Regions from separate parts of the Homo sapiens genome. Here region 1 is linked to region 2. Evidence: promoter capture Hi-C in 16 types of primary human blood cells and fetal thymus (Javierre and others, 2016). All regions are on one chromosome and are shown on one strand. Each heading gives the region's core, a stretch centred on a gene start or on the middle of the fragment in contact. The rest is flanking DNA. Distances are from core to core; before and after follow the strand shown. Region 1 has its middle 3.7 kb from the start of LCA5. Region 2 holds the start of SH3BGRL2 (SH3 domain binding glutamate rich protein like 2).

The links. Contacts are between HindIII fragments. The CHiCAGO score rates a contact against its expected background, and 5 or more counts as called.
Region 1: a contact is called between a fragment that was not itself captured here and the fragment with the promoter of SH3BGRL2 in region 2, in 1 of 17 cell types (megakaryocytes). The highest score is 5.6, in megakaryocytes.

What each region holds. Positions count from the first base shown.
Region 1 is chr6:79,539,295-79,542,889 of GRCh38, forward strand. It overlaps a transcript of SH3BGRL2 not described here. Among named protein-coding and RNA genes, the nearest start is that of LCA5, 3.7 kb to the left of the region's middle. The HindIII fragment of the contact is 5,167 bases long and covers 1-3,595 here.
Region 2 is chr6:79,629,407-79,633,149 of GRCh38, forward strand. It overlaps SH3BGRL2 (SH3 domain binding glutamate rich protein like 2), which reads left to right and starts at 1,923. Exons shown (of 4, transcript NM_031469.4): 1 at 1,923-2,100. The coding sequence starts at 2,056. The HindIII fragment of the contact is 2,885 bases long and covers 1,622-3,743 here.

The DNA of each region.
Region 1 (3,595 bases), core at 428-2,927, 90 kb before region 2:
TTGATAGGGCTAGAATTTTCTAAGATACCATTTGACATTTTATTTCAGTACCACACAGGATTCTGCTTTTCAGAAATAAAGGAAACAAAGTTATCAAAACCACATTTATATTTCTGCCACTTGAAATTATAGTTAACAGAAATCAGACTCTTGTTTTTAAAGATTTTGTTTATGAAACAAATTCTGCAATGGTCATTAAGCACTTTGGAGTTTTATTTTTAATATCCTGGGCTTCTTCCATTGATACTGCAATATCTCCAGATTTGCTACATTGCTAACTGAATGTTCATTTTCTGTAGGACTTTGATTGGCTTCTTTATTGCCATATGGCAATGATGTAGATGTTATAATGTAACTAAAATATTCCTACAAATGCTTACTAGTAGGATTATTCTCATTTTCCTTTGGGGAAACTAGTGTCGAGTTTGAATGGTTGGTTAGAAGTTTCAAAAAAGTAATAGGTAGATAAATAGACTCTCTAACTGTAGACAGAGAAATTACAATGACCATAATTTGTAAAGTGGGGGGACATACTATATATAGTATCTTGGAAAGCACATAAGTATAATTATCCTTAGCTAAAGTTCAGTCATCTATTTCATACCATTCTACAAAAGAAGAAAAGCAGTGTCACAATTTTATATAATTTACAGAAATGTGATACATAACAAAAATTCAAAAATTTTTTCTCTAACTTCTTGATCTCATGTTGCTTGGAAATTTTAAATTTATTAATAGATTCTAGGTAAATAGTTGGTTTTAGCATATAACACTAAATTTGAAACAGTATCTAATATGCTGCATGTTTAAGAGAAATCGAATGGATTGGTTGAGTTGGGTGTAAAGAACAGTATAATTGGCCGGGTGCTGTGGCTCATGCCTGTAATCCCAGCACTTTGGGAGGCCAAGGTGGGTGGATCACGAGGTCAGGAGATCAAGACCATCCTGGCTAACACAGTAAAACCCTGTCTCTAATAAAAATACAAAAAAATGAGCTGGGCGTGGTGGCGGGTGCCTGTAGTCCCAGCTACTCGGGAGGCTGAGGCAGGAGAATGGCATGAACCCGGGAGGCGGAGGTTGCAGTGAGCCGAGATCGCGCCACTGCACTCCAGCCTGGGCAACAGAGCAAGATTCCGTCTCAAAAATAAATAAATAAATAAATAAAATAAATAAATAGTATAATTTCATACCTAGAAAGTGGGCTGCTCTGATGAAAACAAATGTAGTCTAATCTGATTGCTATGAATACTTGATTTTGCAGTACAAAAAGCTAGTAGCCTTTGATTATTGCTCTGTTTAAAGGATACAGTTTCTGATCACTTGATGAAATGTACGAGTTTTTTTTTGTTAATGGAGAAAGAAAACTTGAGATGTTTGTAAAAATGTGTATATACTTACAACATAATGCTGGTCATCGATAGAATGAACTACTGATTAACACGGATTAATTTTAAAGACAATATTGAGCAAAAGAAGTCAGACACAAAAGAATATATTCTGTATACTTCCATTAATAAGTGATTCAAAAACAGGCAAAATTCATCTAAACTGGAAAAAATTAGAACAGTTATTGACTGTGGGGATGGAGGTAGGATCAAGTGGAAGGGACTGAAAGTTATTTTTGGAGTGATGTGAATATGCTGTTTTGACTGACGTGGTAGTTAAAGAGAGTTTCCAGCCGGGCATGGTGGCTCATGCCTGTAATCCCAGCACTTTGGTAGGCCGAAGTGGGCAGATCACTTGAGGTGAGGAGTTTGAGACCAGTCTGGCCAACATGGTGAGACCCCCATTTCTACTAAAAATACAAAATTAGCCAGACGTGGTGGTGTGTGCCTGCAGTCCCAGCTTCACGTGAGGCTGAGGCAGGAGAATTGCTTGAACCTGGGAGGCAAAGGTTGCAGTGAGCTGAGATCACACCACTGCACTCCAGCCTGGGCGGCAGAGTGAGACTCAGTCTCAAAAAAAAAGAAGTTTCCTTTATCAAAATTCATTAAAATATATAAAATATGTGTGCTTTTCACTGTATGTAAATTTTACCTCAATTTCTGAATGGCTTAAAAAAAAAGAATGCATTGGTTTGTATAACAGAAAAATCTAGTAGACCTAGCTCCACGTATGGTTGGATCCAAGTGCTCAATGTTATTAAAATTTTTTCTTCTCTTTGTCTCTTGGATGTACTTTTCTACGTGTTGGTCTTATTTAAGGCAGGCTTTCCCTTCCAGGTATGGCCACCAGTGCTCCAGATTTACATTCTATTTACCTCACAACCCCAGTGGAAAAAGAATATCTCTTTCCTGATTGGTCCAGCAGAAATCTTGGTATTAACTCTGACTGCCCACACTTGAATATGAACTATTAGTAAGTACTGTGGCCAAGAGTTTGCTTCGGGAAAGAATATGATAAAGTCACCTTATCTTTCATGTTTGCTCAGAATAGTGAGGTGATTCTCCACAGGAAAACTGGAATGCTGTTACTAGAAGAAGAAATACTGGACAAAGCTAATAGATGTCCCCAAAAGTGATGATAATAATTTTATTCAAATAGGTTCATAGATCAGTCTGGTGGGCTTGTTTTCACATTTTATTTAAGAAAAACTCTTGTAATTACAAGTTCCCCAGTCTGTAAATACAGATGAGATTAACCAAATTTTGTTATTTTTTGACTGCCTCTGCTTTATAGCACCCCTCCCCTCCAAAGACTTCCCCACCAATAATTTCTGGGACTTCCTAGAGAGTGTCTCATACTTACAAACATACCTGCCTCTACTGGTCATCCCACTAGGCAAGATACCAGGACCACTGCTCTGCCAGGCAACAGTCTATCCCTCTTCTCTCCAGGACCCAGCAACTTCTGCTGGTGGCCATCATGAAGTCACTGAGTACCACCACTTACACCAGTGCCAGAGTTGAACTGGAATTGTGCCAGTTATATGCCTTTTGTTTCTCAGATCCTAGCCTGCCTTTTCTATATCCTACTTTTTTTTTTTTTCCGAGACAGGGTTTCACTCTTGTTGCCCAGGCTGGAGTGCAATGGTGCGATCTCAGCTCACTGCAATGCAACCTCTGCCTCCTGGGTTCAAGCAATTCTGCCTCAGCCTCCTAGATAGTTGGGATTACAGGCATGCACCACCACACCCAGCTAATTTTGTATTATTAGTAAATATAGGGTTTCACCAGGTTGATCAGGCTGGTCTCAAACTCTTGACCTCAGGTGATCCACCCGCCTTGGCCTCCCAAAGTGCTGGGATTACAGGCGTGAGCCACCACACCTGGCCTCTATATTCTACTTTAAGGTTCAGGAGCTAGGACTCAACAAACTGCATTTCCCAGACACCCTTGCTAGTTGGCTTATCGGTAGGTTCTGCCAAAATGGGGCATTTAGGGAGAGGTTGGAAGGTGGGAGTTAGGGAGAAGTTCCTTCTCAATGTCTCTGTTCCTGTCAGGCAACAATTGGCTCTAGTCTAATGTGTCTTTTCCTCACTGAATATAAATGAGTAGACTGAATGAATGTGCTTGTTATTTTGTTTGCAACCTACACTATTACTTTATCTCCTCCCTCTCCTCCCACCCCGCAAAACCATATAAACAACAGCAAA
Region 2 (3,743 bases), core at 673-3,172:
AGGGTTAGGCCCTGCTGTATGTACAGGGCTTGGGGGACCCTTACAACCTCTAGGATCAGAGGAAAGGAGCAGAAATCCCAAGGAGCTGAGCAGATAACCCAGTGAGAAAGTCCTTTGTTGGCATTCATTCAAACCTACTTTTTCAGCATTGTCCTCTACTAGTTCCCTCATATTCCTTTCTGAAGCAAAACCAACTCCTTGCTGTTCTCCTCACACACCCTGAATAGTCTCACCCTGCATCCTCCCTATCTGCAGACAGAAATTCTACTCATCTTTAAAGTACCTTCTATGGCCACCTTTTTCCTTTACATCCACACAACACTGTATTAGTACAGTGTGTCTTGTTCTGTCACTATTTCTGTATCTGTCTTTTTCTTTCCTAGACAATAGGTGCTCTGCTGACAGAGAAATGACTCGTTCAACTTTTTATCCATTCTTGTACCTTTCACAGAGTAGGCTCTGAGTTCCAATTATTTGAGTTTAACTATATCTTCATAGCTGAATAATTCCAAACTGAAGAAAATGCTGACTTTTATAAAGATTTGCATTTATATAGGAAATACGGTATCTACTTTTAAGAAAATTATTTTCTATTTTATAAACGTGCATTTCCACATTTATGGTAGCAAAATTAAAGTACATTTGCCGAGAGATACTAAAGACAGCAAAACTTCTATTTAAAATTTTAAACACGAAGAAGAAATAAAGTCCCATTAGGAGTGTCTCTTCTATTATTGAAGGAAATTTAAAAAGATTCCTACTACAGAAATGGCTTTAAGAAAAGCAATAGGAAAGGTTATAAATTTGAAATATTCATAACTGTTCTAAAAAATACTTCATAATGATTGCTCTTTGTGCAAGAAATGTATCAAAGAGCCAGAGACCTCATCATCTAATTTCTTACTTTTTCTTAATTAACATTGTTCCCAGACCTCTGCTAAACTCCCGTGTTGAAAGGAAAAAAGTAAATACAGTACAGCAGGGAAAACTGGTTCCTTTCGACAAAACTGAGAGAGAGGCTTGAGCTTTTGTCAAACAGAAAGCACTTGATAAAAAACTATTCCTAAACTATTAGCAACTATATAGAAGCTTTTTATTTAACAGCATCCTCCTGGGAAACTGCGCTGGAATGTGCAGCGGTTCTGAAAAAGGCACAGATTTGGCTGAACTGTAAATATTAGGTGCACAGAGGCGAAGCCATTGTGTAGGGAGGGGTGGGGCAGGTAGGGTCCTGATTTCCAATGTTGATAGAAGGATTCCAATTTCGTTTGGTATTTATTTTTTTCTACTACAATTACAGTTTTGCTGAGAAAAATAAAATATTGGTTGTGCTTCCATCTGGGTTTCTAATTTTCAGTGTGTACAGACAAGAGAAGACCTCTCATTTACCCAAAAGAATCACCTTTCTGCAATCTCCAGTGCTACTGGACAAACAAACGAGCCCAACCCCACCGCCCACACCTCCCAAGCACCCGGCTCGCCGATCCCGCCTGCTTCAGGTAGCTGGGGTTTGCCCGGTACGCCAGCGGCCCTGAGACGATGTGTGCCCGCAGCACGATCGTGTCTGTTGGCATTTCTGGGTGTGGATGCTCCAAACCAATAAACCACAATACAGAACCCAAGCTTGGACTTTGAACCGAGCCCTTTTGCCTAGTTTGCTTTTTCCTCATCAAGCCAGGATCCTTGCCAACCCACCTCACAGCTTCTGCCCGGGCTGTGGCTCCCCTCCAGCCACCTGCGCGTGTTCGGGATAGAAGCGCGGTCAGGAGGGGAGCTCAGTCCACCAGCCACTCCAGGGAGAGACGGAAACTACAAATCCCATCAAGCCCCGCAGCCGGCTCCCTCCTCCTCCCTCTCCTTCCCCTTCAGCCTGCGGCCGGGCGGCGCTGGGCTTTTATCTGCGGACCCGCCGGGAGGGAGCCAGATCCCAGCGATCTTCCCCGACGGCAGCGCTTTACCCAGAGGCTGCCGGCGGCTCGTAGCTGGGTTCAGCTCTGCGTCCACGCCAGCCCGGAGCCCGGGGGGCAAGGGGTCTGTCCCGGGCGCAGCGAGAGGATGGTCATCCGCGTGTTCATCGCCTCTTCCTCGGGCTTCGTGGCGGTGAGCGCGGTGGGGGCGGGCAGTAGGTTGGGGTCGCGGGGCGCGGGTCCTGCGGGAGGCGCGCGGCGCTCGTCACTGCGCGTCCTTGCGCTCAGCCGGTCCGCCCGCGGGAGCCCGCGCCCGGCAGGTGATCCATCACACTCCGACAACAATGAAGAGGGCGGGGAGGAAAGGTGGGTGGGGGACCCCGGCCTCACCCAAATGCCCACCCTGCGTGGCCTGAAAGGCAGACAACGCGGCCTGAAAATGGAGTCCGAGGGAAGCCCCCAGCTCCTGTTGTGTGGCATGGAAATTTGGGGAACGGGTTGTTCAAGAGCTTCGGGGATCCCCCTTCCCCTAGTTTAGTTCTTCCCGATTTGGGACCTTCAGACTGGTTATGTTTTGCACGGGAGCCTTTTCTGCTGCTTTGGTTTGTTACCCTAGCTCCTGAATGAAGCAAGTTTAAGTGGGAATTGCTCTCTGTCCTCCCTTCCCCGCCAGCAAGTGCATTTGTTTAGTTTTATACCTGCGCAAAGAGAATAGTAAAACTAGGTTTGTCCTGTTGTGGTAGGATTGTTTGCTTTCACTGTCATTTTTTTTCTTAGGGTGCCATAAATATTTTTACATCTTTATGTAAATGTGTGTGTATGCACGCATTTTCTTTCCACCTGTAATGCTGTGGAAATTTTATCCTGGGGATCTATGAATTGTGGTTTTCTATTTAATTATTTTTAGCTATTCTCTTTGGTGGATGTTCTTGAATTTTTTTAGAGAAAAAAAATTTTTTTAAAGAAAGGAAAGTTAAATAGCTAGAGATGTCAGAATTTAAGGAAAATTCAGTAGTTAGTATATTTGACAGCCCACTAAGGGACATAGCACATGTGTTTTACATGATTATTGAGACTTGGTTTCCTTAACCAAGAGTTCAGCTATAGATTTAAGAGCCTCCTTTGTGACATATATAATCAAGTAACATCAAAAAGTGCATTGTAGATTGCTTAAATTTGGTCTGGTCAATTGTCTGCCCAGTAGCTCAGTCAGATTGTTCCAAAATTTGTTTCTTAAGTGGGTGGAGTGGAGGATGGAATAAAATATTGTTTGAAAATCCTTGTACACCACTGAAGTTTTTTATTTAAAAAGAAACCAACACGATCATACAAAGCCCCTCCACCCCCATTTGCACTAGAAACAATAGATGGGAAAATCCAACTTACACTTATGTGCAGTCATGTTGGGGTCCTCAGACTTCTGACAGTTTCTGGTGTTTCTAGCTATTTGGGTTGCTTAGTCATGCCTGCCTTTTGTAGATTTCCCCACTGAAGCCACACTTCATGTGTTTGCAAACTGGCACTGTTTCAAGGGTAGATTTGTTCAAATGCACTCCTTACTAAGAATGCTACAAAGCTCTTGGTTTCACCACCGACTTGCATGCTTCAATAATTGTCCCAATAGCATTATATTGATTATGGAAGGAATGGTTTTTATCCCTTCCACAAGAGATAAAGCCTAGGCTACTTTGGAGCAAGTCGGACCAAGTCAAGGTAATGACTTGGCTTACTCTATTAGTAGGTAGTATATTGAGATAGTTTTGGTACTCCACATCTTTGTTTTTTCAGTGCCATTGGCAAATATTTATTGCCTGCCTGCTGTGTGCCTTTTTAACT